2 separate regions of the Homo sapiens genome follow, and region 2 is linked to region 1. Evidence: promoter capture Hi-C in human tissues and cell types (Jung and others, 2019). All regions are on one chromosome and are shown on one strand. Each heading gives the region's core, a stretch centred on a gene start or on the middle of the fragment in contact. The rest is flanking DNA. Distances are from core to core; before and after follow the strand shown. Region 1 holds the start of IFITM1 (interferon induced transmembrane protein 1). Region 2 holds the start of PKP3 (plakophilin 3).

Evidence for each region. The method cuts DNA at HindIII sites, captures the fragments that hold promoters and counts their contacts. A contact is called where the count stands out against the background at its distance.
Region 2: a contact is called between the fragment with the promoter of PKP3 here and the fragment with the promoter of IFITM1 in region 1, in 16 of the 25 tissues and cell types used here (H1 embryonic stem cells, IMR-90 fibroblasts, adrenal gland and 13 more).

What each region holds. Positions count from the first base shown.
Region 1 is chr11:312,790-315,289 of GRCh38, forward strand. IFITM1 (interferon induced transmembrane protein 1) reads left to right here and starts at 1,251. Exons shown (of 2, transcript NM_003641.5): 1 at 1,251-1,567; 2 at 2,133-2,483. The coding sequence starts at 1,382. The coding sequence ends at 2,324. RefSeq lists enhancers at 636-1,191, 1,192-1,747, 1,215-1,554, 2,085-2,244. The HindIII fragment of the contact is 8,559 bases long and covers 1-2,500 here.
Region 2 is chr11:391,151-398,378 of GRCh38, forward strand. It overlaps PKP3 (plakophilin 3), which reads left to right and starts at 3,059. Exons shown (of 13, transcript NM_007183.4): 1 at 3,059-3,374; 2 at 5,458-5,537; 3 at 5,664-6,295; 4 at 6,389-6,512. The coding sequence starts at 3,143. RefSeq lists enhancers at 2,512-3,274, 5,233-5,762. The HindIII fragment of the contact is 50,700 bases long and covers 1-7,228 here.

The sequences.
Region 1 (2,500 bases), core at 1-2,500:
ACCAGTAATTTTAAAGCTAGCTTATTAAAGATTCTACTTAAGTCACATGAACGTGAAAAGCATTTAGGCTTATTATTTAATTTATGAGTACTCTTTAAGTTTAAGCTAAATTTGGTAACTTGTGGCCAAAAACACATAACGAAATATGTGTATGTGCACATATACACACATACACACTCAAGCAAAAGTATGGTTTTACTTCAGAACTCCAGCCATGAGATAGTAATACAAATTCATTGGTTTACACAAACAATAAAAAGAAATGGTTGGATGCAAACAGTGGATTTTATCTCTGTAGAAAAGTAACAGCAGACTTAAAGCAGGCAGAAACGAAAGCAGAAAGAGAACTTAAGAACATTACATTAATAATTGCAGGCCCACCTTTGGGCTCTGATTTTTCCTTTATGTAATTTGCAATTTGTAATTCATGATCCTTGTGCCTGAGGGCTCCCTTCTGCTACTCAGTCTACAATTCCCCGTCCCTGTGAAGGGGCACCCAGGCCTGACAGCCCCAGACTTGGCTTTGCCAACCCTCCAGGTCTCTCCTGCATGGCTAGGACCCAACGCCTAGGTCATCCAGCACTCACCCCAACCAAAGCCATGGGAATTGCTGGGACCCGGAAGGTAGGGGGTGGCACATGTGTGCCCTGTGCTCTGAAGCTGCCCCTACAGGCCCTGGAATCCTCCCCGTGTCTCAACACACTACCCTCTGGGGAGTCAGTTCTCCCCAGAGTCCCCGTTCCTGGGCCTGGAGGGCTGCTTTGGGGCAGGAAACTTTGGCCACCAGGCCTCTGACCTGCACCAGGAGACACTGGGAGGTTTAGTCCCCAAACCCGCACAGAGCAGGACTGCAGCCTGAGGAAAGAGCAAGGATTTCAGGAGAGAGGCCTGCGACAAGTGAGGTGAGGGCTTTTGGGGGATTGTCCTGGCGCCTGGAGTGTGGGGGCCTGGCAGGGGCCCTGAACCGGGACAGTGAGGTCCTGTACTTGCTGGCCTGGGGTGGACAGAACCCAAGCCTGGGTAAAATCCCCAGGGCCCCCTAAACCCAACACTTAGGAAGTCACTAGTCCTGACTTGAGTTTCTGATGAGGAAGCCTCTCTCCTTAGCCTTCAGCCTTTCCTCCCACCCTGCCATAAAGTAATTTGATCCTCAAGAAGTTAAACCACACCTCATTGGTCCCTGGCTAATTCACCAATTTACAAACAGCAGGAAATAGAAACTTAAGAGAAATACACACTTCTGAGAAACTGAAACGACAGGGGAAAGGAGGTCTCACTGAGCACCGTCCCAGCATCCGGACACCACAGCGGCCCTTCGCTCCACGCAGAAAACCACACTTCTCAAACCTTCACTCAACACTTCCTTCCCCAAAGCCAGAAGATGCACAAGGAGGAACATGAGGTGGCTGTGCTGGGGCCACCCCCCAGCACCATCCTTCCAAGGTCCACCGTGATCAACATCCACAGCGAGACCTCCGTGCCCGACCATGTCGTCTGGTCCCTGTTCAACACCCTCTTCTTGAACTGGTGCTGTCTGGGCTTCATAGCATTCGCCTACTCCGTGAAGGTGCGTATGGCCCTGGCGGAAATCCAGGGGGTGCCGGTGAGCCTGGGGCTCCACCTGCCCACATGCTGCCTGGGGTGGGGACTTGTGTGTCCCTGTGACTGTGAGTTTGTGTGCACCTCTGCCCCGTGTGTGCTCACGTCAGTAGCTTTGTCTGTGTGATCTGTGTGTGTGTGTGGCTTTGGGGAATCTGCCCAGTGCAGGTCTAGGAGGAGGCTCCAGGAGGCTGGCTGGCTGGCTCAGAGTCTGTCCCTGGCTATCCATTAGCCCAGAGCAATTCTCCCTATAGCCCAGTAAGAAATTACACCCTCACCTTCCAGACTGGCACCCAGGCTCTCCCAGAAAGTGAGAAGGGAACTCACAGGTGACTTCACCCCATGGTGGGGAGAACAGCCTGTGCTGGGGCCAAGGCAGAAGGAGGATGAGCCCCGAGGCTCCTGGAGAGTCTGAGCCCGGGTGAGGAAGGGGAGGAGGTGGTCCCTGATCTCAGGGCGGGGAGGAGACGGAGCCATAGCACGCGGCTCTCAGCTGGGGGATCCTGGTCCCCTCACCATCTCCTCTCCCCCAGTCTAGGGACAGGAAGATGGTTGGCGACGTGACCGGGGCCCAGGCCTATGCCTCCACCGCCAAGTGCCTGAACATCTGGGCCCTGATTCTGGGCATCCTCATGACCATTGGATTCATCCTGTTACTGGTATTCGGCTCTGTGACAGTCTACCATATTATGTTACAGATAATACAGGAAAAACGGGGTTACTAGTAGCCGCCCATAGCCTGCAACCTTTGCACTCCACTGTGCAATGCTGGCCCTGCACGCTGGGGCTGTTGCCCCTGCCCCCTTGGTCCTGCCCCTAGATACAGCAGTTTATACCCACACACCTGTCTACAGTGTCATTCAATAAAGTGCACGTGCTTGTGATGATGCTGTGACTTCAT
Region 2 (7,228 bases), core at 1,809-4,308, 80 kb after region 1:
AGGACCAAGGCCAGAGACCTCAGAGCTGCCCCAGCCACAGGCGCGGGGCAGGGGCCACACTCCACAAGGTGAGGGGTGGTGCCCATGGGCAGCCGGGCAGGCTCCGTGGAGGGGCTGGACTTGGCTGGAGCCCAAGTCAGAAGGTTTGCAAGCGTGGGCGCCAACAGGAAGCGCCAGGACGCTTGCCTCTGGGTGAGCTGTGCCCCCACGCCGGGTCCATCAACCACCAAGGGGCTCCCCTAATGCACTCCGAACCCCGCCCCTGCAGGCGGTGGGACCTGAGGCAGCCTCCCAAGCCTCTCTGTGCACCGGCTCACTCCTGAATTCGGCTTTGACTATATTTTGCTTCCAACGTCCTCACACCTTTCTCCCCAGATCCTCCCCCTTCTGCTCCTTAAGACGACCACCCCAACCCCCTCCACCCACGCAGGCTCTGCCCTGGAGGTTTGTCTTCTGTGCCCTCCCACAACTCCGGGCACGCACCTGGCAGCTCTGCCCACGACCTGGGCCCAGCCGACCTTCTCTGTGAGCGCCTCCCGTGCCCCCCACGCTGAGCCCACCATGCCCCGAAGCCCTCCTGCGCCCTCTCCCACCGCCTCTTGGGAGGTGACTGACAGGCCACACCCCACCCAGGACCCATCTAAGAGCAGCGCTCACTCACCCTTCGAGGCCCTCAGGTTCCAGGCTCTCAACCTGATTGTGCACCCAAGCGGCCCGAGGCTCCGTGCAGATTCCGGGCCCCACAGACAACCGCTTCCTCCAGGAAGCCTACCGTCAAGCCCCCCTCCAGGGCTCCTGTGTCAGGAGCTGGCTCCAGGGAGAGTGCGACCCTCAGGGCTGGTCACAGGGATCAGATGAGACTCCGCCGAGCCTGGAGCTGGAAGCTGCAGCGGTGGCCTAGCAGGCATCGCCATCCGTCTGGCCCGGCCGCAGTGAGGGAAGGTGCACCCCAGATTCCTGGCTTTGCCAAAACTGTGCCTGGCGGGCACCACGCATCCTCAGGGAGGCGCCGCAGCTCTGGGGGGGGGCACCCACAGCCCTCTCTGCCAAGGGGAGGAGGGAAGGTGGGCAGAGTCGGCCCTGGGGGCCCTGCAGGCCGCGGGGTACCGGCGTTCCCATCATAGCTCCAGCCGCACGGAAGCCCCTTCACTGAGTCCTCTTGTGAGCCCTTCGGCCTGACTGGGCTGCAGAGGCCCTCCAGGCTGGCTTCCCCCTCATGCCGCCCAGCCTGGCCCCTGCAGGGCCCCAGGTGGGCCTGGGGTGGACCTGGGTGCAGGGCGGGACCCAGCCCATGCCAGGCACATACCTCCAGGCCCGCTCTGCGCCGCACAAACTTGTCTCCCAGGATTTTTCCACACGAAACCTGTCTCCCAGGGAATCAGCCAGTCCGATGAGCTGGGCGTTCCCACCCCGCCCTCCGAGGCCCCCACAGTCCTGTCCCCGCCGCAGAGGCTGCCCCGCACGCGCCGGGCCAGGGATGGAGTCCTGGACACCTCGGCCGTCAGCAGTGGCCTCTGGGATGAGCTGGGAGGCTGGCGGGATCCGGACCACGAGCCGGGTAGGTCTCCCACCCCTTCCCCACCACCCCGACCCCACCTGGTGGCCCCAGCCCGGGCCTCACCCATCCTTTCAGTGGACCTTCCCCTCCCCCTTTAACCCCCCACGCTGACCTCCGACTCCTACTCTCCAGCTTCCTCCCCTCAGAACTGACCTCACCCTTAATGCTGCCTCCTAACCCTGACCCGGCCCTCACGCCAGACCCCTGCCCCAGCCCCATTAAGGCAAAAATCTTCCAGGGACGGAGCTAGGGGGCAAGGGTCTGCCCTGGAGGAGAGCCCAGAGCCAGGGTCCAGGGTCCAGGGAGAAGCAGAGGCTGTCCGATGAGCTCGTGAGAGAAGCCCAGAGGTTGTCATAGATGTTCAGCTCCCACCCCCAGCCCTCCTAGGCTTATCCCCACCCCCATCTACCAGGGGCTTGTCCCAGAGGCTAGAGGGCCTCAGAGCCCATTTGCTGGCTGTGGTGCTAGAAGGAGACCTTCTGGGCACAAGCCCTGCTTGGTCCAGGGCCCCCCCACCAGGGGCCCCCCACTACCCCACCCCCACCAGGGGCCCCCCACCCTCGCTCCCTCTCCATCCAGGCCTCTGCTCTTCCAGACCCCTGGTTCTTCCCTGCACACCCGCTCCTGCCCCAGCCTGACATGCGCTGACAGGAGTGCAGGCCCTCTGAGTCAACCCCCTGGGGCGGCCCCGCCCCCCTGCACCCTGACTCATGTGCTGGGAACGGCCTCCCACCCCAGGGCCTGGGGTGCAGGAGCAGTGGTGCCAGGGTCCCAGAAGCCAGAGAGGGTTTTGGAGGCCTCTGTAGGGGGTGAGGGGGTCCTGGGGGTGAGTTCCAGGGTCTGCAGGCTTCGGGGGAGGGCCGGTCCATCCACATGCTTCCTGGTGCGGAGGGGGCTCGCTGGATTCCAAGGACCAGGGCCAGGGCCTCCATGGAGTCCCGTTGGACCCTAAAGCTCTGTCCCTCCAGCCTTTGTCCTGATCCCTGGCACTGACCCCTGACTCCCGACAGTGTCTCCTGCCAACCCTTCCTAGGCCTCATCCCCACCTCACCAGGAAGGCTGGGCTACCATGGAGGCTGGCTGATTCTTGGAGCTACCTAGGGCCCTAGACCCCCAGGGACTGGGGCACCCTCCCCTTCATGCTGGGGGTGGCAGGACATAGGCCCCCCGCAGGCCCCCTGCCCTTCCCTGACACTCAGGACACAGAGGGCCCCTCTGTCCCAGCCCCACGACAAAGGGCCCGGTCTGGCCTTTACAGGCTGAGAACAAGAAGGACCCAGGTCCCCGTGGCCCTGTTGTGGGATGGGAGAAAAGGAGGCGGGAGGCCAGGCTGGGACCTGGGGCCATGCAGGGCCTGTTCTTCCGCCCAAATTCCACCTTAAGCAGGCGGCGGCCCCTCCCTCCCACCTGGCCAGGTGTCCCCGCCCCCAGCTGCGCTCAGGGCTGGGCAGGCGTCTGTCTTCAGGCGGCTCTGGGTGAGGCTGGCTGGGCGGGGACTTCAGGGAGAGGGCCTCGAGGGACAGGACGTGAAGATAGTTGGGTTTGGAGGCGGCCGCCAGGCCCAGGCCCGGTGGACCTGCCGCCATGCAGGACGGTAACTTCCTGCTGTCGGCCCTGCAGCCTGAGGCCGGCGTGTGCTCCCTGGCGCTGCCCTCTGACCTGCAGCTGGACCGCCGGGGCGCCGAGGGGCCGGAGGCCGAGCGGCTGCGGGCAGCCCGCGTCCAGGAGCAGGTCCGCGCCCGCCTCTTGCAGCTGGGACAGCAGCCGCGGCACAACGGGGCCGCTGAGCCCGAGCCTGAGGCCGAGACTGCCAGAGGTAGGCGGTGGGGACAGCGGCGGGGATGGCGGTGGCGGGGAGAGGTGGCTGCGGGCGGACGTGATAGTGTGAGGGCAGAGGCCGCAGTGAGGCCGGCTCCTGACTCACCAGGCCTCACACTGAGTCACACACCCCGCCCCAGGGGCGTGGGGAGAAGCCATGGGTGGGGCTGCCCTGTCCAAGCAGGGACCCCGGGGTCCTCCAAAGACTGAGCCTGGCCAGGCCCCACCTGTGCCTGGAGTCCTGGAGCCATCCCTGTGGGGGATGACAGGGAAGGTTGGCACATGGCAGGCGGGCCAGGCCACTCGGTCGGCAAACCCGGAACACGCACGCGCCTGGCCCCGGTAGCACAGACTCACATAGGGTCTCAGGGACACCCAGACACCCACGCTCCTCCCATACCTCACGGGAATGAGCAGAACGGGAAAGCGGGGAGAGGTGTGGGGGTGCTGGAAGTCCTGGAGGAAAGCCAGGCCTGTCTGGACCAGGGGCTCCCTGAGGAATTAGAGGGGAGGGCCCGGCTGGAGTGACCTAGATTTCTCTGTGGGAACAGCAGGTGGAGGAGCACCCCTCGGTGCCAGCCAGACCCACCTGTGGCGGAATCCTGGCCCCACTCACGCGAGTGTGTGTGCATGCGTGTGAGTGTGAGTGACAGGAGCACAGACGCTGTGAGTTGAAGGCAGTGGTTCTAGGAACGCCATTTCCTCCTTCCCAGGCTACAGCAACAGGGATTAAGGTTAGACAGTAAGATGGACCTCCCAGAATGCCAGGGACCCAGATGCCAGTTCATCATGGTCCACTTGGTGTTTAGAGGGGCCTTCCCCAGGACTGGCCTCCAGCCACTGGCCAGGGGGAAGTGAAGGTCGCCCAGCGGAGGGGCCGGCCCGGCGGCCTGGACTGTGGGGTCCTCCCTCCAGGGGCCTCAGCCTTGCTGGTGACCAAGTCGGGTGCCCAGGGGTCATGGGGTGGAGGACGGTGAGGGAAGGGTTAATTACCACCCTGGCTGCCCTGCCAATTAGAGGGAGGTGGATTATAATTGGGGGGTGGGGGTGAGGTCCCCAGGCTGGGGCGTGCCCCCACTCCGGGCTGGGCCTCACGAGCGTCAGAGGGTTAATAGCCCCGGCCCAGAAGCCCCATTAACCAGGGTGAACCTGGGGCCTCTGCCATGGGGGTGTCCCCCACAGAGCATCCAGCTCTGGGCAGAGTTGTGGGAGGGCCACGGCCCCTTTCCCTGCACCCCACCCTGAGCCCCTCAGCCAGGTCGCTCTGGTGGGCCTTCTCATGCCCCCACCATCAGCCCATCCTCTCTGCACCCATCCACGAGTCCATCCCTCTGCCCACTCACCATCCAACCATGGGACCCTGTCGTCGACGGCTGTCCCACCCCTCCATCCACCACTCTGTCCATCCTTCCAGCAGTCACAGCAGCCCTCCCATCCTCCTCCTGCCTGTCCCTCCATCCACCCTCCGCCCTCCACCCTCTGCCCACCCACCTGTCTGTCCACTCACTGTGGAGTCGGGCTGACGCAGCTGCCCTTGGCGTGTGTGTGGCTGGACGGGGTGGGTGTGGCCCCTGCCTCAGGCTCTGCCGGGTGGGACAGGGCACTGCAACAGGGCATACTGGTCCAGGGAGACAGTGTCACTCTCCTGTGACCGGGCACAGATGAGGTTTGGGCACAGGAGGGGCTCAAAAGGAGTCAGTGTGGGCCGGGGCAGGCCAGGCTGGCTTCCTGGAGGAGGCTGGGCACTGTACCATGGCAAGGATTGGAGAACTGATGTCAGAGGCCCTGGCACATTCCTCCTGGCGACCAGGAGGTCAGTGGGTGAGCGTATCTGCCCTCTCGGGTAGAGGAGGCACAGCTGGGGGGTGGGCTGTGGAAGATGGACCACCAGGGCTGACATGTGAGGAGACCAAGCCATGGCAGGAATGGGGAGGCACTGGCCCTGGTGCCCCCCTGGCCTCCCTGCCCTGGATTGGAGGCTGCTCCTAGGGTTGCCAATAGCGATGGAGTGGTGGAGAGGAGGCAGGAGGCCAGTGCTTTGCTGTGTGGCAGAGCTGGGCTACCACCGTCCCTCTCCACAGGCACATCCAGGGGGCAGTACCACACCCTGCAGGCTGGCTTCAGCTCTCGCTCTCAGGGCCTGAGTGGGGACAAGACCTCGGTGAGCGATGGGCCCAGCCCGAGGGGGACGATCTGAGCTCTGCAGTCTGGAGAGTGGGAGGCTCTGCAGCGGGCCCGGACACAGGTGAGCCCAGGCACGCCCTCACCGCCCCCTCTCGACCCACAGGGCTTCCGGCCCATCGCCAAGCCGGCCTACAGCCCAGCCTCCTGGTCCTCCCGCTCCGCCGTGGATCTGAGCTGCAGTCGGAGGCTGAGTTCAGCCCACAACGGGGGCAGCGCCTTTGGGGCCGCTGGGTACGGGGGTGCCCAGCCCACCCCTCCCATGCCCACCAGGCCCGTGTCCTTCCATGAGCGCGGTGGGGTTGGGAGCCGGGCCGACTATGACACACTCTCCCTGCGCTCGCTGCGGCTGGGGCCCGGGGGCCTGGACGACCGCTACAGCCTGGTGTCTGAGCAGCTGGAGCCCGCGGCCACCTCCACCTACAGGGCCTTTGCGTACGAGCGCCAGGCCAGCTCCAGCTCCAGCCGGGCAGGGGGGCTGGACTGGCCCGAGGCCACTGAGGTTTCCCCGAGCCGGACCATCCGTGCCCCTGCCGTGCGGACCCTGCAGCGATTCCAGAGCAGCCACCGGAGCCGCGGGGTAGGCGGGGCAGTGCCGGGGGCCGTCCTGGAGCCAGTGGCTCGAGCGCCATCTGTGCGCAGCCTCAGCCTCAGCCTGGCTGACTCGGGCCACCTGCCGGACGTGCATGGGTTCAACAGCTACGGTAGCCACCGAACCCTGCAGAGACTCAGCAGCGGGTGAGCGGCTGGGCCCGGCTCAGGGAGGGGGCTTCTACCACGGGCCCAGCCTGAACCCAAAGTTAGCCTGACCCCTGACCCCTGGCTCCGCAGTTTTGATGACATTGACCTGCCCTCAGCAGTCAAGTACCTCATGGCTTCAGACCCCAACCTGCAGGTGCTGGGAGCGGCCTACATCCAGCACAAGTGCTACAGCGATGCAGCCGCCAAGAAGCAGGTGACCACCCCGACCACCCACTCGCTGCCCCCTGGTGACCTCCTTCGTGGGCCCCACCACCTCCCACTGTCCTCTGCTCACTGAGCACCCCTCATGATCCCCAAGCTGACTGGGTAGACCCCACTCTGTCTGGAGCCCCCTCAGCAGAGGAAGAGCAGAAGGATACAATTTGGATACACCAGTATCACCTGCATCACCTCCGTACCCCCACATATACCTCATCACCTCCGTACACCCGCACACACCTGCGTCACCTCCGTACCCCCACATATACCTCATCACCTCCATACCCCCGCACACACCTCCGTCACCTCCGTACCCCCGCACACACCTGCATCACCTCCATACCCCCACACACACCTGCGTCACCTCCGTACCCCCGCACACACCTGCGTCACCTCCGTACCCCCGCACACACCTCCGTCACCTCCGTACCCCCGCACACACCTGTGTCACCTCCCTACCCCCACATATACCTCATCACCTCCGTACACCCGCACATACCTGCGTCACCTCCCTACCCCCACATATACCTCATCACCTCCGTACCCCCGCACACACCTGCGTCACCTCCCTACCCCCACATATACCTCATCACCTCCGTACACCCGCACACACCTGCGTCACCTCCCTACCCCCGCACACACCTGCGTCACCTCCGTACCCCTGCACACACCTCCGTCACCTCCGTACCCCCGCACACACCTGCGTCACCT